Linked DNA regions of Homo sapiens: all the other regions are linked to region 1. The links are contacts of gene promoters, found by promoter capture Hi-C in blood cells and fetal thymus (Javierre and others, 2016). All regions are on one chromosome and are shown on one strand. Each heading gives the region's core, a stretch centred on a gene start or on the middle of the fragment in contact. The rest is flanking DNA. Distances are from core to core; before and after follow the strand shown. Region 1 holds the start of ECRG4 (ECRG4 augurin precursor). Region 2 has its middle 14 kb from the start of LINC02946. Region 3 has its middle 20 kb from the start of LINC02946. Region 4 has its middle 52 kb from the start of CD8B2. Region 5 has its middle 39 kb from the start of LINC02946. Region 6 overlaps LINC02946 (long intergenic non-protein coding RNA 2946). Region 7 has its middle 52 kb from the start of LINC02946.

Region 1 (3,719 bases), core at 763-3,262:
ACCAGCCTGACCAACATGGAGAAACCCCATCTCTACTAAAAATACAAAACAAAAACAAAAACCTTAGCTGGGCGTGGTGACACATGCCTGTAATTCCAGCTACTCGGGAGGCTGAGGTAGGAGAATCGCTTGAACCTGGGAGGCGGAGGTTGCAGTGAGCCAAGGTCACGCCATTACACTCCAGCCTGGGCAACAAGAGCAAAACTCCATCTCAAAAAAAAAAAAAATATTTTCACTGTATAAGAACTTTCACATCCCAGCTCGGTGATGATATTTTAACTGAGTTATTGGTATAAACTAAATAAAATACAAGTCCTGAAAATAAATGGCTTGTAGCCAGTGCTCACTTGACTTATTCAGATGTGCTTTTTTCTTCTTCTTCTTTTATTTATTTCTTTTTTTATTTTGCGACGGAGTTTCACTCTTGTTACCCAGGCTGGAGTGCAATGGCACGATCTCAGCTCGCCGCAATCTCCTCCTCCCAGATTCAAGCAATTCTCCTGCCTCAGCCTCCCGAGTAGCTGGGATTACAGGAACGTGCCATCACGTCTGGCATTTTTAGTAGAGACGGGGTTTCTCCATGTTGGTCAGGCTGGTCTCGAACCCCCGACCTCAGGTGATCTGCCCCCCCCCCCCCCCCGGCCTCCCAAAGTGCTGGGATTACAGGTATGAACCACCAAGGCCGGCCCAGATGTGCTTCTTAAAGTGGCAAGAACAAAGAGTGGGAGGCAGGTAAACCATACAACGGGAAATGACTGATTAGCTTCGCCTGTGATTCTAAGGTGGAACAATAATCCTCCCCACCTGAACAGACCTCACCACGCCTCCTGCTGTTTTAGCAACCCCGGGGCTCCATCCCAGGGCTCCTACTGAATGTCCCCTGCCTCTTCTCACCTCGAGTTCAGTTTCCATACCTGTTTCGAATGAGCAAAATACAGAAACTGAGCAACCGAGTGAGCCTCCCTTTTACATTAGGCAGTGCCCAGCTGCTTTGCAGTGGGACAGCGCCAGTCTCAGGCTCTTGGGCAAGTCACTTCATACACCAGTAACTCTGAGGTAACAATCCCTGCCTCCCCTAGTTGTAAGCTTCAAAGGCAGTCATGTGTCCTTGAGGCCACTTGTGAACCATAAATGTTCCTCCTACCCAGTGAAGGTGGTAACTCAGGACAAACCACGGCTTCAGATTATGGTTCCTAAAGTGGGGCCTGTGGAGCCCAGCGATCAGATATCGGAGCACCCATCATTCTGGGTGTGCGTGTGAATGCACGTTTTACAGAGAGCGAGCAGAGAATTTCAGAGTTTTCAACCGATTCGCTGGGAGCTCCACGAAGCAGGAAAGATTAAGCATTACTCCTTTAAGAGCCTTTCCCCTCTCTGGGGTGTGAGGCCTGTGCCCAGCTTTGCAAATTGCAACTTGACCCAGCTGGGAAGCGCAAGTCAACTTGGTTGCTAAGCGACTGCCTGGAAGGGAATGGCGGTGATGGTGCCATTTGCCTCCTCTGGGTTACCAGCTGCGTAAAGCCCCCACAACCCTTTTGCCCCTTACGTTAAGCCACGAAACACTACTTGCCCACCCTTCGGACGCCTGGCCCTCCTTGCCCAAGGTTGCCCGGGAGATCTGAGACCCTCCCCTTGACCCCGGTACTCTCTCCACCCTCACAAGGGCACCACTTCGCACTTGTGCGAGTGCAAAACCCCAGACCCGGTCCTCTACCACCCCTTGGCCCTGCCTAGGCTAAGGATGGGTCCCTACGCCGCCACCCCATCACCGATCGCTCTCCCCGGGCACCATGGAAGCGCCACATGGGGCCAACCCCTGGTGCCGCTATCAATCAGCCTGGCATCGCCCCGCTCACCTGGGCCCCAGCACAGGAGCAGGAGCAGCGCCAGCCCGGTCAGGGCCAGGACAGCAGGCCGCGCGGGGGAGGCAGCCATGGCGGCGGGGCGCGAGCAGGAGGGCGAGGGGCGCACTTCGAGGTGCTGCGAGGGAGAACCGGGCGCGGGAGAGGGGTGCGAGCGGGCAGGCGCGGCCGCGGGTTATCCCTGCGTCGCTGCCGGGGCGGGACCCAGCGGGTGGGCGCCGCGCCAGAGGGCTGAGGGCCAAGCGGCTGCGCCCAGCGCACGGGCGAGTACCACCGAGGTCCTCTCTCCCGCCCCGGCCCCAAGGGGAACGCAGCCCCTGGGCTCCAAGGCCAAGGATGCTTGGCCACGGAGAACCGCCGGCGGCGGGGGCCGCGTGGCCAGCGCTGCCCGCAGCGAAAGCGGTTAGGACAAGCTGGGTTCCGGAGACCCAAGGAAGGGCAGAAGGCATCGGGAGAAGGGACGAGGCCCCCTGGCCACTCAGAGGGAGGACTTGCCGGATCCCAGCGCTGGGGTGTCTCCTTGGCTCCCCCACTTCCTCCGCCCGCCCCAGCCGCGCCACTGTTCCCCTTACTCCTCACCCCTTTCTTCCCTATCTCCCTCCCTCCCTGCTTGGGGGCCTTGCTTCTGCCTGGTTTGTAAAGTGGGCTTTGGAATTTCCTTAGTTCAGAGCTGCTCTTAAGGATGCCTTAGGCGGGGCTGTTTTTGAGATAGTTTGAAAGATTCCACAGTCTGGGTTCAGAGCTGCAGTCCGGGAAATCGTCTCACCCAAACTTCTCCAATAGAAAAGCCTTTGAGAAACCAGGAACCTGGTGCCCTGCAGCTGTGAGCAAAACCACTGCTTCCCTTTGCCCGCTCTGTAATCTGGGCACACTTCAGCGAGCGATGTTAAGGTGAGACCCAAGGGAAACGCAGAACTGCATCCCAGTAACTGGCCTGTTCAACTGTAGAGGACACGTGAAAGGAGGCGTAGTGAACAAAAACTAGAACAACTTTATCCCAACGGACTCTGAGCGGGTCACCTAATTATTCTCTCCAGGCCTGGGCTACAAAAGGATGGAGATGTGAGATTACCTTTCCTGTCTTCCCATCTCAGATCTGCCCTGAACTGAGCTGATTACCTCTTTCCTTCACCAAGGTTCTCACTTATTTTCCCCTCCCTGAGACGGAGTTTCACTCTTGTTGCCCAGGCTGGAGTGCAGTGATGGGATCTCAGTCACTGCAACCTCCAACTCCGGGGTTCAAGCGATTCTCCTGCCTCAGCCTCCTGAGTAGCTGGGATTACAAGGCATGTGCCACGAGGCCCAGCTAATTTTGTATTTTTAGTAGAGAAGGGATTTTACCATGTTGGCCAGGCTGGTCTTGAACTCCTGAACTCAAATGATTCACCCGCATCGGCCTCCCAAAGTGTTAGGATTACAGGTGTGAGCCACCACACCGGCCAGTATTTTTATACCCTCCAGTGGTAAGCACTTACTGTCTCTCCATATAATTAGCTCTCCATGCAATGCAGTTGAATTTCTCCAGCAGGAAGGAGAAAGAAGTCTTCTAACATTGAGCTAGTAAAGACAGATGGTGGCCAACCAAAGAAAAAAGTGCAAAGTGGGTCTGAGTTAGATCATGATACTGCCCAGGGTGTCAGAGAGAATCAGAAGGATAATGTTACACATCTAGCTATCTTGGGGAAGTGCTTCTAAACCCTTGAGGAAACTGTAGAATAGGGGATAGGAGTTTTAAAAGTAACCAGGCATATATTTACTTTTGCCTGAGGACAAGAAATTTATCATTAGAAAGAAAAATCAAAGCACATAAAAAGCCAATATTCTGTTTGGATTGGTTTAGAACATACATTAAACATA
Region 2 (3,469 bases), core at 289-2,788, 440 kb after region 1:
CGAGACCTGAGGAATATTTTGGACTTAGGAATTACAGGTGCTGTCTGAGCAGACTTACATCCCAACTTCACTCCCCACATAGGCTGGCCAGGAGTGAGTGCTGGCCCCCATCCCGTGAGCCTCAGTCTTCTCTGCATGAGATAACAATACCTGGGAATATAAGGTTGTTGAAAAGACTCAATGAATGTGCAAAGCACGGTGCCTCGCAGATACAAGACCTTCAGGAAATGAGTTTCCCGGACTTCCATTTTCCAGATTTCAGCACTTCTTCCCCATCCCCAGTGACTGAGTGCCCACCTCCTTCAACAGATAGTAGTAGTCAGTTCTAATTTTTCCAACTCGGAGGTCATAAACATTAACTGTGCTTAACGTTTAGGTAACGTTTAACTCAAGGGAAAGCTTGTTGAACAGTAGTGGTTTGGGAGCACAGTCTCGGGGGAGAGGACGCTGCGCTGGAGGGGAAGTGTCTGAGCTTGGCAGACATCACTGGGTGGTTTCTTTCTCCTTCTGTCAGTGGCTCACTTGGCACCGCGTGGAGTGTGTGTAACCGTGGCCTGTGGTCTCTTAGGCAGGGTCCTTTGGGAACGAGGAGGGTTAAACAAGGTTGCACTGGCACGTCCAGCACTCTCTCAGGAAGATCACCTGCATGCCCTACAGATGGCCTGCTGACACCATCTTCCTGGAACACACAGCACATTGCAATAAAACAAAAAACTAATGACCTGAAAATGGGATTTTATTTCTTCTCATTCTGCCTAGATGTTTCTAACTAAAACAGTTACTTCTACTGTGTCTCTCTCTACAAAAGTCTCCATCCACTAGTCTTAAATTCTGTAAGCTTTCCATTCCAGCTTAAGCCCACTCAAGGCAGGCATTTCCAGCTCTGGGTAGTTTATGGCACCTCTCTCAGCCTCAGTTTTCCCAAATAAGGCTGTGGGGCTGGGGCCACCATTTTGGAGGAGGTTCCAGTGCTTTCGATCTATGATCTTTTGACTGGATATACAGGTTGAGCATTGGATGAGGAGCATTCTTGAGCTAATGACTTTTCTTGACTTTCACAGATTAATAAGAGAGATGGAAGATTGTCCAAACTCAGAGAAACTTCTCCTCCTCTGCTCACAGAAGCACATAAACCCAAATGACCACATTTCCATCTCAGTGACTGCTCTTGTGTTTTCCTTCCCCTAACCATCCACCTAGTGAGGAACCAGAGCCAGCTGCCAGTAAGAAAGCAACTGCACCCACATTCCATCAGGCAGGAATCCTGCAGACGCTGTCTTTGCATCTCTCTGCATATCTTGAGAAAAGTCCAGGCTCCCCCCACAAGCCTGTGCCTGTGTGTGTGTTCATCTCTTTCTCATGGTGGGTAGGCAGAATCATGCCCTCTTTACTCCCACCCCCACAAATGTCCACATTCTGATTCCCAAAACCTGTGAGTATGTTCCTTACATGGCATACGGGACTTTGCAGATATAATTACGTTAACGACACTGGAGATAATCCTGCTTGGGCCCAAAATATCACAAGAATCTTTATAAGGGACAAGAAGGAGGCAGGGGGGTTAGAGAGAGATGTGATGAGGGAAGTACAGAGCCAGAGAGGTGGCAGCAGGAGGAGGGCTCAGCCAGGTGTTGCTGGCTTTGAAGATGCAGGAAGGGACCATGAGCCAAGGAATGCAGGCAACCTCTAGAAGCTGGAAAAGGAGGGGAAACAGATTCTCCCCTAGAGCCTCCAGAAGGAACAGCCAAGACCTGGATTGTAGCCAGCTGAAACTCATATCAGACTTCCGACCCCCAGAACTATAGGATGGTAAATTTGTGTTGTTCTAAGCCACTACATTTGTGGTAATTTATTATAGTAGCCATAGGGATGAATACACTCCTCCAAAATGAAATTCATAACATCTGTTCAATAATAATATTTTTAAAAGATAGCTATGGCCCCAGAAAATTTCAGTGCTCAATCACCAAGCCCAAGAAGTATAAGTTTAGTGTATCTATTCCAAAATTGTTTTTAAAGAAGATACCAACATAAAGATGGAATAGGGAACATGCAACGGGTCACATGGTCAATTAGATAGCACACTAGTTCCAGAACTTGGGCTGCAGGCTCTGCTGGACTGTCTTTCAGGAAGGACGGGCTCAGTGCCTTCTGCCTCATGTATTTCACCCCATGGCTTCTATTGCACACACACACACACATGCACACAGCCTAAAAATGAAAGAGGATAAAAGCTTTCTCCAATATCACCCTCAAAGTTAAAGCACTTCTCTAAACAGAATGATGCCTAAATTATCCCCAAGTTTCAGTCTCATTACATTAAAAAATTATTTACTGGGTTAAGGATCATGTTGGTCCTATAAATACAGAGACCCAAAAGATGGTCTCCAACTTGAACAGATCAGCCAGGTGGGTTGAGAAGAAGGAGGAAAGGATCATCTTTGTCTTCTTCCAAAGGTGCTCAGAGAACAAAGTGATATGACCTGCTTGGATGAAGATGTGGCTCTCCTTGATTTCTCTAGGGACTTTTGTCTTGACCTTCCTGAAACGCCACTGTTTTGCATCTCTTATTATAAGCCCTATGATTCAACTATCACCTCTCGGGCACTGTTGACCTCCCCCACCCTAAGATCTCTTTCTCCCCATTCCCTGATGAGGCCTCAGGTGTGACTTTCACTGTTATGAATGTACCTTCTCTCTCAGAGTAGCCTGCTCTCCATGTCCATTCGTCCACCACTTCTTGTCTGCCACTTGTTTGTCAGTTGCTCTATGGATTTTTTCTTTCTTTCTTTCTTTTTCTTTCTTTCTTTTTTCTTTCTTTCTTTCTTTGTTTTTTGTTTTTTGAGACAGAGTCTCATTCTGTCACCCAGGCTGGAGTGTAGTGGCTTGATCTTGGCTCACTGCAACCTCTGCCTCTTGGGTTCAAGCAACAATCCCTGTCTCAGCCTCCTGAGTAGCTACGATTACAGGAATGTTCCATCACGCCCTGCTAATTTTTGTATATTTAGTAGTGACAGGGTTTCATCATGTTGGCCAGGCTGGTCTCAAACTCCTGACCTCAGGTGATCCACCCACCAGAGCCTCCCAAAGTGCTGGGATTACAGGCATGAGCCACCATGCCAGGCCAAGATTTTCTTTTTTTCTTTAGCTGAGAAAGAGTCCCATTCTGTCGCCCAGGCTGGAGTGCAGTGGCGCAATCTTGGTTCATTGCAAACTGTGCCTCCCAGGTTCAAGTGATTCTCCTGTCTCAGCCTCCCAAGTAGCAGGGATTACAGGCACACGCCACCATGCCCAGCTAATTTTTGTATTTTTAGTAGAGACTGGGTTTCACCATGTTGGCCATGCTGGTCTCGAGCTCCTGACCTCAAGTGATCTGTCTGCCTCAGCCTCCCAAAGTGCTGGGATTATAGGCATGAGACACCATGCCCGGCTATGATTTTCTTAAGCTCCAAAGTGTAAGCTGTATTTG
Region 3 (3,787 bases), core at 436-2,935, 480 kb after region 1:
ACTTTATTGTATATCTTGAAGATAGATTCATATTAGCATGATAATAGCTATGCCCTTTTAAATAGCTGCATACTAATCCTTTGTACAGACTTACCAACATTTAATTAACTAGTCTCCAATCGATGACCATTGGGTTGTTTTGCATATATATGAGTATATCTGTAGGATAAATTCCTGGAAGTGGAATTGCTGAGTCAAAGGACACATGTATTTATAATTTTGGAGGGCATAAACAGAGCAGTTTTTAAAAATTGGATCTGAATCTGTGTTGAATATCTTCATCTCCGGGTCTTCATGTCCTCACACTCCCCATTGTCCTACCTTTGCGTTACCTGCCTCCTTACAAAGGCACTGAGAAAAACCCCTCAGGTTTAATAGTGAGAGGACCTGGGTTCAAGTCCCAGCTTCCTTACCTAGCTGCTCTTTTCATCCGCAAGACAAACACATCATCATAGGAACCATTCCGGGTGTGTTCAAGATAATTTACTAAGGCAGTGTGTGCAAAAGCGTTGTGTGAAATGTGAAGGGCTTTGTGAATATACTCTTGATGGTGATGAAAATACAACTGAGAAGAAAGAACAGTGTCAGGTGTGAGGGTGTGTATGTATTTTTAGTGCCATGACAGCTTTTATCTTTGGATCTCATAATGCCTTTATAAATATTTACTTGTAACCTACATTTCATTGTGAAACAGCTGTCAGCATCATTATTTTCATCTTACAGAGGGACAGACTGACATCACCATGGTTTCTCCTGGAGTTTCTCTATTCAAATAAATCAACCCACATGAAGAATGCACGTTAAGTTTAGCTAAAAAGTAACTTTCTCTATCGAGCATGTGTGGAAACCTCAGCGATTGTGGCATTCTTCTCATCTGCTTCTTTGATTTATGTTGCTGACACTGTTAGTTGTTCATCCAACAGCTTTTCTTCTACTCCTTCTTCCTTGCTGGTTGTCTTAATCTGTTCAGGCTGCTATAACAAATTACCATGAACTGTGTGGCTTATACCACAGACATTTATTCATCACAGTTCTGGAGGCTGTGAAGTCCAAGATCAAGGTGTCAGCAGATTCAAGATCAAGGTGTCAGCAGATTCAATGTCTGGCGAGGACCCATTTCCTGGCTTACGAATGGCCTTCTTCTCATTGTATCCTCAATGGCAGAGGCCAGAGAGACAGCAAGCTCTGTGTCTCCTCTTATAAGGCACTAATCCCATTGATAGGACTCTATTTTCATGACTGAATCACCTCCCAAAGGCCCCATTTCCTAATACCATCACCTTGTGGGTACGAGCTTCATTATATAAATGTGGGGGACAAAAACACTCAGTCTAAAGCACTGATGGAGATAACCTCTCACTGTAAAGGCTGAAAGCACCAGATACTCGGCCAGGTGCATTGGCTCACACCTGTAATCCCAGCACTGTGGGAGGCTGAGGCAGGAGGATCACTTGAGGTCAGGAGTTCGAGACCAGCCTGGCCAGTGTGGCAAAACCCCATCTCTACTAAAAATACAAAAATTAGCCAAGTATGGTGGTGCATGCCTGTAGTCCCAGCTACTTCGGATGCTGAGATAGGAGAATCGCTTGAACCTGGGAGGCAAAAGATGCAGTGAGCCGAGATTGCGCCACTGCACTCCAGCGTGGGTGACAGAGCAAGACACTGTCAAAAAAACAAAAAACAAAAAAACAGAGACTCTCTTCCCTAGCCTCTCTTGCAGCTAGCTAGGTGATGGGCATGAGAGCCAATCAAGGCCAATGGATGTGAGGGTGTGTCTGCTGAAGGACTCCCTAATAAAATGAAACAAGCAAAAAGAGCCTCCTTTCCTGCCTTTTGGTGGACTTGTGTGAAGATTGTGCCTAGGGCAGTGGCCACCATCTTGTGGCCATACTGGGGAGATTGGGGAGGGGTGGAAAGGACAAAAGAGAAGAAGCACCCCAACCTCCAGGACTTTTATTACATGAGATAGTAATAATCTTTATTTTTTAAGCCTCTGGAAATTAAATATGCTGTTAATGGCCAAAAGCATCTAAATGATAGACTTGGTGTCCAAACCCACGCCATGTTTTGTGCATATGAGCTTCTGTATCCAGTTCTTCAGATGAAATGGTTTCTGAAGCAGTTGGTTTTATAAGGCTCTAATGGAGATTTGTGTGGGGTGAAGGAGGGAGCTTGACCCAAACATGTTAATGACTGCCAACCACAGACAGTGGCACATGTCTCTGTCCCAAACTATACCATTTCCACTCATGTCTTCTGGTCTGGATGTTAGATAACCTCAACTTTTCCCCAAAAATAAAGCACCACATCTAGGAATTCACTAATGGGTACACTGTTTCATCCATCAAGCAAATATTGAATGCTTATAGTAGACCAGGTGATGTTCTAAACACTGGGGACACAACTATGGTAAGTCAGATATGTTGCCCTCAGAGACTTGTAAGTTGGTGGGAGAGACAGGGAGACACATAGGAGACAGGGAGACACGTAGATGACATGGCCAAAAACCTGATTCAGATCAGTTCAGGATCTTGGCAGAAAGCAGTTGGCACATTCTGAAAGTTTCATTGAAGAAAGTTTCATTAAACAACTCTTCAGATGGGTTTAATGGAACCAACAAAGGATGGTGACTCGTATATGTGGGAAGCTGTTATTGCCTTGGGCCTGAAGGGGCAGAAGAAAGGAGCAATGTTACTGGAGCCCAGAGAGAGCTTGGGGCCAGAACAAGTGGAGTTGTAACCTGTAACCAAAGAGGCAGCCACTGGCTACCCAGCTTCCCCACCTCTGCCACCACCCACTGAATCTAAGCCCCCAACCAGAAGGCAAAGGGCCAAGGAGCCCAAGAGAAGCAGCCAAGGAAGGTTCAACCCCTGGGGCACAAGGGGCAGGGAAACACTGAGAATGAGTGCATGGTGGGGCACATGGAAATCACCAGCACAATACTAAAAACTGGTTTTGTTCCCTAGCTCTTGTTTTTGTCAATATTAACTATAATAATTGCTTATTTCAATTTTTCTAAAGTGAGCACTCTTTCGGACTTCTGTTTTTCACACAGCTTTATTTCAGGCCTTGTTAGAAGAGCCATTCAAACGGGAGCTGAAAAACCATTTGAATCTTTGAGGATATATAACTGCCTATACATCTTCAACTCTAGGTTAATTAAAAATTCACAGAATTCAGTGAGAGTGGCAGGCCCGAGGGAAAAGTCATAAGGATTAAAGAGATTTCATCCCCTGCATGTGCATGGAAATTATGCATGACTCCTAGGTTGGGAGTTTGGGAGGCAAGGAAAGGATGTACTTAACCTGATTTAGCTTTAGCTCGGGGATCTCGAGTAGAGCACACTCCTCAACAGCGAACCTCATTCACTAACCTGAGATCAAAACATGAGGAAGCAGAACACTTAACTTTTAATGAACTCTAATCTCTTTAATCAAATTTATAATTAATTCTCATGCTACCCTGGCTAACATTGGAAGCTTTATTCATTAACTCTAATTATTATCCATATTTCCTGCCCTAGAAACATACTCATATACTTCCTACTTTTTCAAAGCCGTAAAGCAGTAGCATAATTGGAGAGTGGTTGTTGTCCAACCGAAGTGACAAGTTCTCAAAAGCGAGGTATCTGCATATCACTCGGAGGACAAAAGTGTCACTGAAAATTCCCATCCACCTGCAGCAGAGAATTACTGCATGCAGAGAATCACGTCTGAACGATCTACCCTCTCTCTCAGCTCTATCATGGCCTGTAAACTGCTCTTAGGGATCCACATCCTCTTCGTTT
Region 4 (3,685 bases), core at 872-3,371, 470 kb before region 1:
CCCCAGCCCACCAAGCCTGCCCACCACAGGGCCCTTGCACATCCAGCTCTCTGCAAAACTCTTCATTCCCTCTCCTCCTGCTGGGCTCCTGTGGACCATTGAGTCTCTTAAAGGTCATTTTCCCCAAAAGGCTGTCTCCACTCCCCCAGCCGAATGAAGCTCCCCTGATATGCCTTCAAGACACCCGCTAGTTGTCACTTTGAATACTTACTGCAAAAGGTAGTTATAAGAGTATTTGGGGCCGGGCACAGTGGCTTGCGCCTGTAATCCCAGCACTTTGGGAGGCCGAGGCAGGTGGTTCACAAGGTCAGGAGTTCGATACCAGCCTGGCCAAGATGGTGAAACCCCATCTCTACAAAAAATAGAAAAATTAGCCTGGCGTGGTGGTAGGCGCCTGTAATCCCAACTACTCAGGAGGCTGAGGCAGGAGAATCACTGGAACCCAGGAGGCAGAGGTTGCAGTGAGCTGAGATTGCGTCACTGCACTCTAGCCTGGGTGACAGAACAAGACTCCATCTCAAAAAAAAAAAAGGAGTATTTGGATGATTATTTGCTTGATTTACTTTTTCCCCCTCAAGACTGTGAAAGTCCTGAAAGCAGGGGGTTTGCCTGCTTGGCTCACCCAGAACAACAAGCCGACTTGCTAAATGAGGGAGTGGTACTGCCAGTTGACTTCATTCTTGGTCCTATTTTTATCTGTTTTGAGATTGACATTAATGCGCCTTTGGTGGGCTGGTCTCCTAGGGCTAATTGTCATTTCTTTGCAGTAAGAAATGTTGAAAAGCTTTTTAAATAAAATAATGAAAATACGAATTTCTCACAAAGGCTGAGTTTCTAATAACATAATTATTCCAACACTCATCTTGAGACCACATAATTAAGAAACAGTAATACTTGGATATTTTTTTTAATTTGAGAGGTCTACATAAACGATTCTCTGCATGATTCTTTCTTTGATCATTGAAGCTGTCATTTTCTTTTTTCATTCTTAGGAAATCATTCCACATAACAAAATTGAATTTCTTTCAAGCCATAAAATTATTGGAATATAACATCCACCCTAACTTCATCTACATAACATGAAGTATATAATTTCCACTCAAAATTAATTCTCAATGTAAACAAGAATAACAATAAACCAAAATTCACTTATGTTTACTATGAAATAGATTTAACGATCAGGAAGTCCCATGACAAAAAAGGGAGATTCAGTGACGGGAACAGTGATTAAGTTAGCCAAGATGCTCAGCAGTAGGAGAATACACTTTTTTTTCCCACTTGGCAAAGCTTAAATAATTTTTTAAGTGTCAGATTCTGTTCTTATTTTATCAGCCAAAGGAGGCTTGGTTTCCAAGCCGTGTATCCGTCAAGAAATTGGAATTCAAGCAAACACATATTTTGAAGTTTGATGCATTGAAGCCAAACACTGTAGAGACAATGATAAATATGATATGGTCCATCTTAAAAATGTTTTTGGTGTTTGTGTGAAACATCCTGTAAGCTGGAATTAAGCAGCAAAGAGCAATGATGCCCAGAAGCTGCAGCCCCGTGTGGCCCCCTAATTCCACAGTAAGACCCCTTATTTGTCTTCAGAATAAAAGATGAGCACACCGCACACATGGTATTGTGTCCCAAGTACATCAACTTTCCATGTTTTGGCGTGGAAACAAGAAACATCTTTACTTCAATTCCATAAAGTAGTTCTCTAAATTTTAGAAATATAAATATGTTTGCCTTTTGGGACCAATATATATATTTCCCCTTGAACTCACTTATTCATCCATTTATTTCACAAATTTATAAGGAGCTTGCCCTGTGCTAGGTGCTGTGATACCTGCTGGAGACACAGTGGTGAAGAGACACAGGAGGTCTCAGCACACAGGTGAGACCCACACATGGGCCCCGAGTGCTGTGGGGGCACCAGGCACTCTGCTAAGTGCTTCATGTGCCTCACTCATCAACACAGCAACTCCATGGGGCAGGCACTGCCCTGGCCCTGAAATGAGTGAGGCCAAGGTGTGTAAGTGAACACGTGTTCACTTGCGCTGTGACCAGGTAGAGTCAGAAGTTCAGCCAGCACACACCAGCTGCAAGAACCCGGCTCTGAAGTCCTCATGTGTCACTAGTTCATGAGCTACTGATCACACACATGCAGTCACACAGATAAACAGTCACACCGTGCACAAGCTCTGGGAGGGGGACACACTGCATATGAGACTGTTTCAGATGGCAGTGCCCGGCCTGATGAGGAAGGGCAAGGAAGGCCCCCAGGGGAAGCCTTGAGGCAGTGTGGAAGGGTGGGTGGGTGGAGAGCATAATATGAAGAGGGAGGGGTCCAAGCTCAGCACAGATGCCAAGAGCCAGACCTTTGAAAATATGTGGCCAAGACCCAGGAGTGCCTGGACACACGGAAGCCAGCTATTACCAGAGATAGTGACATGCAGGTGAACATCTGGGGAGTAGGAGGTGGGGAAGGGTGTTACAGACAGGAATTCCTACTCAGGACACTGCTCGGCTCTAGATAGCGCAAAGGTGAATTTTCCAAGGTAAATGCACTTTGTGAGATCTCAAGTGCCACACAGATTCACAGTCACCCTTATTACAACATGGGGAAATTTTAATCACTGCTAATAGTAGATGCTCAAGTCCTAAGATCTTATGAAACAAGCCAAGAAAGCTACTTCTGATCAATTTTAAGAACAAGTAAAGAGAAAAGCAGGCCATTTGTGTACCGTTTCAAGCAAAAAGCAACAAGATGAATATTCTTCATGTATACATAGCCTACATAGGCTGAAGGCTCCATCTCAAAATTCCCCTTCACAGCCTAAACCTTCCTCAGCCCCTGAGTTGACCACCCTGCCTATACCGTATTTTCCCGTTTCTCAAATCACTGGCAAGTGTTATTTGGGAATTGAGTCATATTGGCTAGTTTTGTGCCACCATGAGGAAGCTTGCAAGGTCTTTGGTAGTCAAGCTGATGACTTACGCTTCCCTAGACCAGCAGCTTTGTCTGGGCACACCCAGATGCGTGCAAACACTTTGAGCACTGAAGGTCCGCAGGCCTCCGCAATCACTGAGCATTTGAGACTCCTCTGGGGCCATGCATCCACCAGCTCTCAGCGCAGGTCAGAAAAGGAGCCTCACAGAGACTTCTCATTTATTTTACATTCATTACCCTGCTAATTTCCAAAGCGAGGTGCCTGAAGCTAGCTTAGCAACAAGCAGGCGTGACGGCTGTCCCACGGCTGATTCTGAATGTGCTTTGTCAGTGTGTTTGTTTTTCCTTCGTGCTAACTTTATCTTCAGAACCTATTAAGTTTAATCCCAGCAGTACTAATTAGAGGTGGCAACAACAGAAATCCTCTGCAAGGGCTTTTAGAAATCGACCGCCACTTCAGTAAGAACAGCCATGCTCTTCTTTTCATTCCTTGTCGCTTCCTCGGGCATTCCACAAGGAGCTACAATCTGGTGTTTAGAGAGCTGAAGGGCACTTATAGAACCAAGCTCTACACCAAGTAAAAAGAGATTTTAAGCATATGTGGATTCAAATGAGAAATCTGTGCAAGTGTGCCACACACCTCTCTTAACCTCATTTGGGGATTTCTGTGCATACTGTACTTAAAATTAAGTAAGATAAGCTGTTTTTAAGATGTCGTGTCTTGGTGGCGTTGAACCATAATTTTCT
Region 5 (3,734 bases), core at 568-3,067, 490 kb after region 1:
GGACTCTGTTTGGCCAGGCCTAGGTTACTTGGTTATATCCAGGCACAGGGTACATTCGTTTGCTAACGCTGCAAAGAAACAAAAACGAAAGCAAACAAACCAATCCCCAAAACCGGGTGGTTTAAAGCAACAGAAATGGATTGTCTCACAGTCTGGAGGCTGAAGTCTGAAGCCAAGGTGTTGGCATGGCCACACTCCCTCTGAAAGTAGTAGGGGAGTTCTTCGTTGCCCCTCTCTAGCTCCTGGTGGTTGCTGCAGGCTTTGGCATTCTGGGGCTTGTAGATGCATCATTTTAATCCTCAGTTTGCACATGGCCATTTTATCCCTGCGTCTCTTCACATTGTCTTCCCTCTCTGTGTGTTTGTGTCCAGATTCCTCCTTATGAGGACGTGAGTCATACTGGATCAAGGCCCTTTCTAATGACCTCCTCTTGACTTGATTACATCTGCAAAGACTCAATTTCCAAATACGATCACATTAACAGGTACTAAGGGTTAGGACTTGAACATATATTACTAGGTGTACATAGGGGAAGGGGAAGGGCACGATTCAACCAACAACAGTTGGTGGGAAGAGCTAAAACCCATGTGTGAAGTGGGCATGATAGTAACAGCACCTTCCTCACAGATTCGATGTGAGGAGTCAAAGCTCTTGCAAAGCCATCATCCCAGTGCCTGGTTCCTGCTGAGCACGTGATCAGTCTGGTTTTTGCTTGGGTGGTAACTTCTACAGTGGAGTCAAATTATACATACAAACTTGTGCACATTCAATTGCATGTGTGGAGAGAGACCAATTTAAATAAATTAAAGGGATTAAGAAATAGGGACATTTCCACCCCACCTCCCCCCATTCTACTCAGAGAGAACACTCAAGCAAGAGGAAATTGGAGGAGGGACTTTGCTGTTTCCTCAGATCGCCTTGGTCCCAGGCTCCCCCCATTGGGTAGAATGTGAGTCTAGGGTGGACAGAGGTCTCTTTTGTGCACATATGCCCCGAAATGCAGGCCAATGACATCACCTGGTGCCCAGGTTGGGAACAGGCTCTGGAGGAGATGCCAGTGTGCGGGGTCATGGAGCATGGCTCAGGGCACACCTCCTCAAACCGGCTGTAGTGAAAACCAGTGTCCTCCACCTCTCCCAGACCCCTGAAGGTCCAACAGTCCCTGACAGCACGTGACTCATACTGCCTGCATCTCAGCACATGCTGAACAGCACCTGCCCTGGTCTCAGACCCACCCACAAGCCAAGGCCACTGATTGCAGCTAGTGGCTGCTGCAGCCACGCCAAAGGCACAAGTTTCTACTCACTTGACTCTCATTTCTGTGCTTTTCTCATTGAGGGCTGGTAACAGACAGTCAGAGACCAGCCCTACCCATAGACCTCACTTTGAGGAGCCACGTGTCCTATTGAGATAACTTAGAGGGTATTCAGAATGGAGGCTGAATGAGACATCCCCCTTCCTTCACTCCTAAGCCCTACCCAAGACAGGCCTCCCCTCGGTAGAGAACACCACCTTTCCCTGTGTGTCTTCTTTCCAGTCCTTTCACCATTGGTTCTCCCTTCCTTAACCAACCTCTCTTCCCCAAATTCCCACCACACATCTCTAGCCTGGCCATCCCAGCCTTCTTGCCCTCCTAGCAGCAGAGTCATTCTTGCAGACATGACCTTGCCTTTTTCAAACTGTGACACAACCCAATATGACCAGACCTTGCTTTGTTTCATGGGGTCTTAAGTTTTAAAGAAATAAAACAGTGAGCCCGTTTGCTCCTTCATATAGGCTCTGGGGTCCTAATGGGAAGGGCTGGCAGGTGAGTGGGGAGAGGGAAAGGTGAGAAGGGGGAGTCAGCCTCATGGGGGGCATTGGGTAGGTGTAAGGAGAAAGCCAGTGGCCAGTGAGGACAGCCACACCTGCCAAGGACAGCCAGGAGGCCCCTCAGGGCTACCAGGGACACCTCAGCCTCAAACCAGGGCAGAAGAAGACCACACGTTTCTCTTCCTCTTCAGATCTTCCTCTTCTCAGCCGCGTTGTGGTAGTAATTGAAGGAGTTGGTGGTTGGTGATTACTCAGTGTAATGCTACTGATGAAATCGGTCATTCCGTGCCTGCCACACATCCAGGCCTCTCAGTTCTGACCCTGCTGCCCCAAGGCCTCCACAGGGACCCTTGGAATGTCCTGCTTTGCTGGCTTCCTGGAAAACTGGGGCTCTTGGTGACACTGGATCGCACTGGATCGCCCTGTATCCTTTTGTTCGTACTTCATATTTTGCAAGCACTGTGGCTGCAAGTTGAATGAGAACAATTCGAATGTCCATTGACAGTTGAATGGGAGAACAGAATGTGGTCTAGACATGCAGTGGAATATTATTCAGCCTTGAGGAGGAGGGAAGCCCTGACACATGCTACAATATGGATTAATCTTGAGGACATTACGCTGAGTGAAATAAGCCATCACAAAAGGAAAAATACTGCATGATTCTACTTGTATGACGTCCCTAACATCCCTAGAGTAGTCAGATTCACAGAGACAGAAAGTAGAATGGTGGGGGGTGGGTGTCGGGCTGGGAGGAGGAAGAAGGGGAGTTAGCATTTAATGGGTGCAGAGCTTGGGATGACAAAAATGTCCTGTAGGTGGATGGTGGTGATAGATGCACAGCAAAGTGAATGTACTCAATGCCACCGAACTGTATTCTTGAAAATGTCAAAAATAGAAATTGCATATTACATCTATTTTACCATAATTTTAAAAAGTTAAATTAACAAACACTTCATTGTGTTTGTTGTGCAGCTTTTAATGAAGACTCAGTCAGCACACATGGAGCACCTGCCTGGCCGCGGTCATGCCAACCCTGTTCCAGGAGCCAGCAGTGCAGCTGCAAGGCACCTTCTGTCCTGCAGGGACTTAGATTCCAGGGGAGGACAGGGGAGGAGGCAGAGAAACAAAAACAAGCAGTAATTTTAGGTAGCCATAAGTGATGGGTAGAAAAATAAGGCCAGGTAGGAGGCCGCAGAGGAAAGCTGGTAGGGGAGGGAGAGTATTCTTGATAGAGATTGAAGGGCCAGGAAAGCCCCCCAAACCCCACTCCAAGAGGTGGGATTTGAGCAGAGATCTTGGTGAATTTGGTGATGGAGGGGTGTGCAATCTGGTGCAGAGGCTCTGGGGGAGAGAATATTCAAGAACAACAGGGAGACCCTGTGATGGGACTCAGTGGGAAAGGCATGGAGTAGAAGGCGGTGGATCTGGAAGGGAGCGACACCGGGTGGTGTCGGAGCCTGTGCACCGCAGCGTGTCACCAGGTGTTGCTCTGAGGGGATGGGAAGCCCCTGGAGGGTGAGCATGCTCACCTATGGAGCCGCAGGGCTGAGTTAACAAGTTTCTTCCGGCTGCTGTTTGTGGCCTCTGCTGCAAGGAGGAAGAGAGAAGGAGCACTGGAGATGCATTTGGGGGTTGGTACAATGTTCAGAGGATGTTGGCAGTGTGGGCCGGCATGCTGGGATGGAGTTGGTAAGAAGGGGTTGGTCACAATATATTTCAACATTAGAGCCAGCAGGACCTGAGGATAAAATCGATGTGAGGTGTGAGGGAAAGAGAGGGCTCAGTGTGCTCTGCACACCTTCCGGAGGGGGCAGTTACAGAACGGCGGGGCTATTGTCTGAGAGAGGGGATCTCGGGATGGAGGAGTCATGCAAGTGTGGCTGTGTGATGGCTGAGGCTGGCTAGACATCCAGGTAGGGATG
Region 6 (3,466 bases), core at 957-3,456, 460 kb after region 1:
GTGGGGAGTGTAGGGAGGGGAAGGGTGCAGGCTAGAGGCCTGGGTAGTGAGGGTGACGATAGGGGCTGCGTGGCCCAGCCCCTGGGGCAGCGTGGCCCAGCCCCTGGGGCAGCCTGAGCCTGGGAAGATTGAGCACCCCACAACAGAGAGGGCCCAGTCTGAGGGCTCCAGAACATCTTGAGGAAATCACGGTGTTTAGTGTTATTTGTGAAAGCTTTGCAAATGCCAGTCACTCAGCAAGCCTGTTCATTTCCACGGTGTCCATGGCGAGGCAGGACTTCTGCAACACCAGGCAGCACAGAGAAAGTGCTTGGGATGCACAGGGCAGAGGGCAGCCTGCTGTTGGGCAGGGTCCTGGGATCCACAGGGCAGAGGCCGGTCTGCCGTGGGGCAGGGTCCTGGAAGCTGCTCCTCCCATCCTATCTCCATTCACACTCAAGAAAATATAATAATTGTCTTCTAAAGGGTATCTTGAAGGCCAAAGGCACCAATGTTTAGCCTTCTGGTCATCTCCAATTGTGTTTGTGAGGGAGTCTACCGTGGCTCCCTACTCCCACCCTTGGCAGAGTTGGGGACCCCCCTTTTCATGCTTATACATGAATATATGTTCCTGCCAGGAGCTCAGAAGTGCTGCTGGGAATAGAGGAGCTTGAGGTCATTGACCTCCTGGAATCCCAGCACTTTGGGAGGCCAAAGCAGGGTGACTGCTTGAGCCCAGGTGTTTGAGACCAGCCTGGGCAATGTGGCAAAATCCTGTCTCTACAAAAAAAAAAAAAAAAAAATTAGCTGAGTGTGGTGGTACGCATCTGTGGTCCTAGCTACTTGGGAGGCTGAGGCAGGAGGATTGCTTGAGCCCAGGAGGTTGAGGTTGCAGTGAGCCGAGATGAGGCCACTGCACTCAGCCTGGGTGACAGAGTAAGACCCTGTCTCAAAACAAAACAAAACAAAAAGAAAAGAAAAAGAAAAAAAATCATTGATCTGAAAAAAAGGTGCCCAGAATAAATCATAAAGGGAAAAGGCAGGTTTCAAAGTGCCATATGCAGTACAATCCAATCCTCGTGAAGAAAAAAAAAAACTGTGATGAAGAATTTGGAAATGTATACAGCAAAATCTGTGATCTTTATTTTTCTTTTAATAAAGCTATTCCTACTACCTATCCTCCCCCAAATAATTCTTTCATTGCCACTGTAGTAAAATATAAAAATAGGTATCAATAGATAGCAATTGAGTGTATTTCACAACAACGAGAGGTGGGCAACGCCTGGATGGCCATGTCTGAGGAGCATCACGAATAGGTGACTATGGACCTGCAGAGGAGAGGTTGGGGAGGGAGAGCATGGTATGCAGACGTACCTTCTCCACCCTGATTTGAGGTCTCCTCGGTAACCTGGGTCATAAAACAGAGTATTAATAAAGTTGGTGGATGGAAGAGCAAGAGCACAGGAAGGAGGAGCCAGAGGCAGTAAGGTCAGCTGTACACTCGCCAGAGAGTAAGTGCCAACAACTGGCACAAGCATGAACTGGCAAACATCAAGCTGGGAGTGTGGCGTGAAGAGAGGGGGCAGAGCAAACACAGGCTGCAGTGGACACATACACATATTTCTTGACTATGAGGATGAGTGAAAAGAAGAGGCTGGCAATTGTATGATGGTCTTCTGTCTTCATGCCAGATGGGCCAGGGTTCACCCAGGGCTGTGGTTTAGAGTCTTATAATCAAAGCAAGTGATAACACCTAGAGTGAAACCCCACAGGGCTGGGAGCTGCAATAGTGACATGTGAAAGCATAAGCTCTGGGGCAAAAAGCTTTTCCATCTCAGAATTTCTACTTCTTTTTTTTTTTTTTTTTTTTTTAAGATAGAGTCTCACTCTGCTGTCCAGGGTACAGTACAATGGTGCAATCTCTGCTCACTGCAACCTTCACCTCCCTGGTTCAAGCAATTCTCCTGCCTCAGCCTCCCCAGTTAGCTGAGATTATAGGAGCCCACCACCATGCCCGGCTACTTTTTGTATTTTTAGTAGAGATGGAGTTTCACCATGTTGGCCAGGCTGGTCTCGAACCCCTGACCTCAAGTGATCCGCCCGCCTCAGCCTCCCAAAGTGTTGGGATTACAGGCATGAGCCACGGTACCTGGCCTAAAGAAGCCTTTCAAAAATATCTCTGGGTCCAAAAAGCCTTTTGGTATCTTTTTTTGAAAAAAGCCTTTCAAAAGTAGTTCTGGGGCAAAAAGCCTTTCAGTATCTTAGTTGAAAGGAGAAAAAGTCAGGTTGGGACACTTAATAAAAATATTTAAAATAGGACAAATGAGTACAGAAAATAATATACTCTCATCATACCATTACCCAGATTTAGTAAATTAGGTTCAGATATTTTTTAAGGAATGGAAACTACAGATGCAATCGAATTGCCTTTGGCTTCTTGATGTCATTCCCTTCCTTCCCTCACTAGGAACTAACTATGCAGAGGTTAGTGAATGTTCTTCTTGATTATGTTTTTATACTTTTCCTATAGATAATATTGACATGTTCCTCAGACACACAAATATTCTTGATGAGATATAGCAGGATATAATAGTGTTTGCATAAAATAATGGTGCTTGCAATAAGCTTCTCTCTTGTGGGCAATATTAGTTTGGTTTTTTTAAAGTTCTTTATATCCATGAGGAGGGGAAAAAATCACATTTTGAAGAGAAGCCTTACCGATTCATAGATTTACGAGTTAAAGGAGATAAGAGATTCCTTTTGCAAAAGACATAATATACCAATTTTAAATAATTGGTTTAACTGATATAATTTTGCAACTTGCTTTTCTCCCACTTGACATTATGTTTTTGACATTCATTCATGATGAAGTATGCTGCTTTAGTTAATTAACTTTTAATCCTGTGTGATAAGTATAGTATTCTACTGTATAAATATACTATAATTTACCTATTTACTGTTAATGGACATTTTGATTTTTGCCTTTTCTTCTGATATAAGCAATGCTACAATGAGCACTTTTATACATGTGCCATCATGGCCAAGTGTGAGTTTCTCTAGCATGAACCATGAAAGCAACACTGCTCGGGTAGACGATACATACTCATCTTCCCCTTAACCATCTATTGCCAAATTGTCTTTCAAAGTCTTGAGCCAGTTCACGCTTCTGCCAGCAGTTTGTGAGTTCTCATTTCTCTACATCTTCATCAATACTTTTGAGTATAAACTAAAATAACTCATTTTTCTTATTACTAGTGAATAATCATGTTTTCATATATATAGGCTATTCAGTTTTTCTTTTCTGTGTTTTATCCATTTATATCCCTTGCTCATTTTTTCTATTGGCCTGTTTATAGCTTACTGATTTGTATGAATTTTTTACACATACTAAGTTCTAATCCTTTTCTGGTTATCTAAATTGCAAATCTTTTTCTAACTGGTGACTTGCCTATTCACTTTGTTTATGGTGGCTTTTCATATGATAAAT
Region 7 (3,892 bases), core at 987-3,486, 400 kb after region 1:
CCTGGCTGATACATTTTTTTCCTCTGACTTCTTTAAAAGAACTGACTGTTTAAAACAAAAATCATAGCACTTCATTGTGAGGTTTTTATGGTGTGTAGATGCACAGGAACATAACAACAATAGCACAAATGAAGGTGGAACATGGAATTCTATTGGTCATAATTTCTTATATTTTTCTGAGAAAGTGGCACAATAGTAAATCTATGTAGGCTGTGTTAAGCGAAGGATGTATATTGTACTTTCTAGAGTAACTACTAAAAATAATGGTAGGATATATAATTAAAAAGCCAACAGAGAATTAAATTCAAGGATTAAAAAATATTCAATTAACCCAAAAGGAGAAAAGAATGGAGAAACAGAAGGGCAAAAGTCACATGGGACAAATAGAAAATAAATAGCAAAATGGTGTACCTAAATTCTACTATGTAACAAATTAAATTTAGTGTAGTTAAACTAAACAGTAATTAAAAGGTGGATATTGTTGGATTGGATTTAAAAAAGGAAGACACAACTAATGGTACCTACTAGAAGTGCACTAAAGACTCTAATAAGTGGAAAGAAAAAGAATGAAAGAAAATATACCACACAAAAGCCAAGCAAAAAGAAGCTATGTGGCTAGAAGAATCACAGACAAAGTAGACTTCAACATAAGGATCATTACCAGAGATAAAGGGATACATTTTATAAGTATGTATGTATGTGATGATAAAGTGTCAAAATATATGATAGAACTAAAGAAAGAAATAGAAAATGCACAATTTCATTTGAAGATTTTTAACATCCTTTTCTCAGAAACTAATAGAACTAGGTAAACAAATCAATATGGACATAGCGGATTTGAACAACAATATCAACCGATTTGACTTAAGTTGACGGCAACGACAGAATATGCATTCTTTTTAAGTATACACAAAGTGTTTATGAAGCTAGATAATGTGCTGGGTTATAAAATAAAGTACAAAAATTTTCAAAAGATTAAGTAATGTTATCTAAGCACAACAAAATTAAATTAGAAATATGAAAATGAGACCTCTAGAAAATTCACAAATATGCAGAAATTAAATAGCACACTTCTACATAGCCCATATATCAAAGAAGAAATCACAAGAGAAATTAGAAAATACTTTGACCTGAATAATGATGAAAACGTGACATACTGAATTGGAAGAAGCATGACATATTGAATTGGAAGAAGCAGCTAACACAGTGCTTAGAAGATAATGTTTAGCTTAAATGTCTATAGAAGAAAAGAAGAAAGGCTTAAAATCAACAATCTAAGCTTTTGCTTTAAGAAGCCAAAATGAAGACTAAATTAAAGCCAAAGTGAATGGAAGGAAGGAAATCACAAAGATAAAAGCAGAAGTCAGTGAAATAGAAAACATAAATATAATAGTGAATATAAGCAAAGTCACAAGTTAGTTCCTGAAAAAGTTTAATAAGATTGATCAGCCCCTAGCAAGACTAATCATGATAAAATGTTACAAAACACAAAATTAAGAAAATCAGAAATGTTGTCATTATAGATCCTGTAGGCATTTAAAGGACAATAAAAAAATTATAGAAAACTTTATGTAAGTAAATTCAATAATTTGGATGAAATGGTCAAATTTCTTGAAAAACACAACTTGAAATAACTGACATATGAAGAAATAGAAAACTCATAATAGGGCTATAACTGGTGACCTTTCAAGAACTTGAACTCATAATCAAAATCTTTCCCAGGAAAAACTCTCCAGGCTCAGATAATTTCACTGATGAAGTCTATCAATCGGTTGATGAAAAATAATGCCAATTTTACGCAAAGTTTCAGAAAATGAAGAGAAGAAAACACTTCCTACTATACACTATACACTTGTGGGCTACTATAACACTAATACTCACACCTGACATACAGATCACATGAAAAGAAAATTGCAAACCAATATCCCTCATGAATATAAAAATGAAACGCATTAATAAAGTACTAATGAATCAAGTCCATCAGTGTTGAAAGAGAATTTATCATGTTCAAGTGGAGTTTGTCTTATCTGAATTTAACATTGAAAAATCAATCAATGTAACTTATCATATTGCAAAGCTAGAAGAGAACAATAGGTGATTACCCCAATAGAGGCAGAAAATGCAGTCAGCAAAATCCAAAACCATTCATGATCAAAATTCCCAGCAAACTATGAACAGAATTTTCTTAAACTTATAAAGGGCATTTACAGAAATTCTATAGATACTTAACGGTGAAATATTGAGTGCTCAGGAACAAGCTACCTTTGTATTGCAGGCCCTAACTGTGAGAAGACAAGAAAATAAAATAAGAGACCCAGATTTAAAAGGAGGTATGAAATTGATTTTAATCACAGATGATGTGACTGTGTATATAGAAAAATCTTTTGAAGTCTACAGAGCAACTGCTAGAACTAACAAATTAAGCAAGATCACAGCATACAAGGTCAATATACAAAAATAATTTTTTAATAAAATTTCTTTATGCAATTTTATTTCCTAAATAGATTCTATTTTATTTCTATATTAAGTCCCATCAAAACCATAAAATAATTCAGACTAAATTTAACAAAAGATGTGTAAGACCTGTACACAGACATATTGCTAAAATGAATTAATTTCTTAATTATTTTAATAACTTAAGTAAATTAAATTAATTACTTAAGTAAATGAAGAGATATTCCATGTTTATTATTTGGAAGTCTCATTACTGATGAGATGTCATTTTGATCTATAATTCAACTCAATCTCAATCAAAATTCCACAGAACTTATTCTAAAATTTACAAGTTAATTCTAGGCTTAGGGATTAGACTGGCCAAATTCTTGAAAAAAAAACAATGGAAGACTCATGCTATCTGATTCCAAGATAAAGCTACATAAATTATGTAGCTTGTACTCTGGGTAAAGCTACATTAATTAAGATGGTGTGATACTGGCATAAGGACAGACAAAGAAGTCAGTGAGCCCAGAATTAGACACACTTATGTAGTCAATTGATTTTTGACAAATGTGCCAAAACAATTTAATGAGGAAACAATAGCCTATTTAAAAAATGATGCTGCAACAACTGGATAAATGTGTATGTTATGTACATGTAGGGGGTGAGGGAGGAACAAGACTCCCACCTCATACCACGCTCAGAAGTTAACTTAAGAAAAATAGATCAAGCCTAAAATCTGTAGCTCTAAAGCTTCTAGAACAAAACATAAGATGTCTTCATGACCTTGATGTAGGTAAACATTTTTTAGAAAGGTCACTAACAGAACTAACCACAAAAGAAATATTATTTTAATTTCATAAAAATTAAAGACCTGCTCTTTACAAGATCACTAAAAAAATAAAAATGCGAGCCACAGACTGGGAGAAGATATTTAGTATATATATATATATATATATATATATATATATATATATATATATATATTTGACAAAGGATTTATATGTAAAGAACTCCTCCAAATCAATTTTTTTAAAAAAGACTAACAATTAAAAAAATGAGCAAAAGATTTGAACAGATACTTCACCAAAGAAGATGCATGAATGGACAGGAAGTCCATGGAAAGGTGAAATGTAAGTTTAAAAATCCACCACTTCATATCCACTACAATGGCTAAAATTGAAAGGAACAACAACACAAATATTGGTGAGGAAATGGAGCAACATAACTCTCATATTTTGTTGGTGGCAGTGCAAAGTGGTACAGCCACTTTGGAAGAGTTTATGACGGTTACTGGTAAGGTAAAACACCTCCAGCATGACTCAGTAAGTCAACTCCTAGGTATGTGCCTAAAAAAAAATGAAAACCAATTTCCATGAAGGACTTGTACAAAAATGTTTACAACAGATTTATTCACAATATCTAAAACCTAATAACTCAAATATTCGTCAAGTGA

What was found. Contacts are between HindIII fragments. The CHiCAGO score rates a contact against its expected background, and 5 or more counts as called.
Region 2: a fragment that was not itself captured here is called in contact with the fragment with the promoter of ECRG4 in region 1 in 6 of 17 cell types (activated CD4 T cells, total B cells, total CD4 T cells and 3 more); the score reaches 8.9 in activated CD4 T cells.
Region 3: a fragment that was not itself captured here is called in contact with the fragment with the promoter of ECRG4 in region 1 in 14 of 17 cell types (naive CD4 T cells, activated CD4 T cells, non-activated CD4 T cells and 11 more); the score reaches 19.8 in naive CD4 T cells.
Region 4: a fragment that was not itself captured here is called in contact with the fragment with the promoter of ECRG4 in region 1 in 5 of 17 cell types (total CD8 T cells, total B cells, naive B cells and 2 more); the score reaches 8.1 in total CD8 T cells.
Region 5: a contact is called between a fragment that was not itself captured here and the fragment with the promoter of ECRG4 in region 1, in 11 of 17 cell types (non-activated CD4 T cells, naive CD4 T cells, naive CD8 T cells and 8 more). The highest score is 21.4, in non-activated CD4 T cells.
Region 6: a fragment that was not itself captured here is called in contact with the fragment with the promoter of ECRG4 in region 1 in 6 of 17 cell types (total CD4 T cells, M1 macrophages, non-activated CD4 T cells and 3 more); the score reaches 7.4 in total CD4 T cells.
Region 7: a contact is called between a fragment that was not itself captured here and the fragment with the promoter of ECRG4 in region 1, in 3 of 17 cell types (naive CD8 T cells, activated CD4 T cells and non-activated CD4 T cells). The highest score is 6.8, in naive CD8 T cells.

What each region holds. Positions count from the first base shown.
Region 1 is chr2:106,063,981-106,067,699 of GRCh38, reverse strand. ECRG4 (ECRG4 augurin precursor) reads right to left here and starts at 2,012. Exons shown (of 4, transcript NM_032411.3): 1 at 1,857-2,012. The coding sequence starts at 1,935. The HindIII fragment of the contact is 9,592 bases long and covers 1,089-3,719 here.
Region 2 is chr2:105,622,841-105,626,309 of GRCh38, reverse strand. No RefSeq gene overlaps it. Among named protein-coding and RNA genes, the nearest start is that of LINC02946, 14 kb to the right of the region's middle. The HindIII fragment of the contact is 1,396 bases long and covers 841-2,236 here.
Region 3 is chr2:105,588,278-105,592,064 of GRCh38, reverse strand. No RefSeq gene overlaps it. Among named protein-coding and RNA genes, the nearest start is that of LINC02946, 20 kb to the left of the region's middle. The HindIII fragment of the contact is 3,593 bases long and covers 1-3,481 here.
Region 4 is chr2:106,537,417-106,541,101 of GRCh38, reverse strand. It overlaps a transcript of CD8B2 not described here. Among named protein-coding and RNA genes, the nearest start is that of CD8B2, 52 kb to the right of the region's middle. The HindIII fragment of the contact is 1,663 bases long and covers 1,290-2,952 here.
Region 5 is chr2:105,570,066-105,573,799 of GRCh38, reverse strand. No RefSeq gene overlaps it. Among named protein-coding and RNA genes, the nearest start is that of LINC02946, 39 kb to the left of the region's middle. The HindIII fragment of the contact is 5,756 bases long and covers 1-3,734 here.
Region 6 is chr2:105,606,342-105,609,807 of GRCh38, reverse strand. All of the region lies in intron 1 of LINC02946 (long intergenic non-protein coding RNA 2946), which reads left to right. Among named protein-coding and RNA genes, the nearest start is that of LINC02946, 2.5 kb to the left of the region's middle. The HindIII fragment of the contact is 801 bases long and covers 1,806-2,606 here.
Region 7 is chr2:105,660,625-105,664,516 of GRCh38, reverse strand. No RefSeq gene overlaps it. Among named protein-coding and RNA genes, the nearest start is that of LINC02946, 52 kb to the right of the region's middle. The HindIII fragment of the contact is 1,910 bases long and covers 1,282-3,191 here.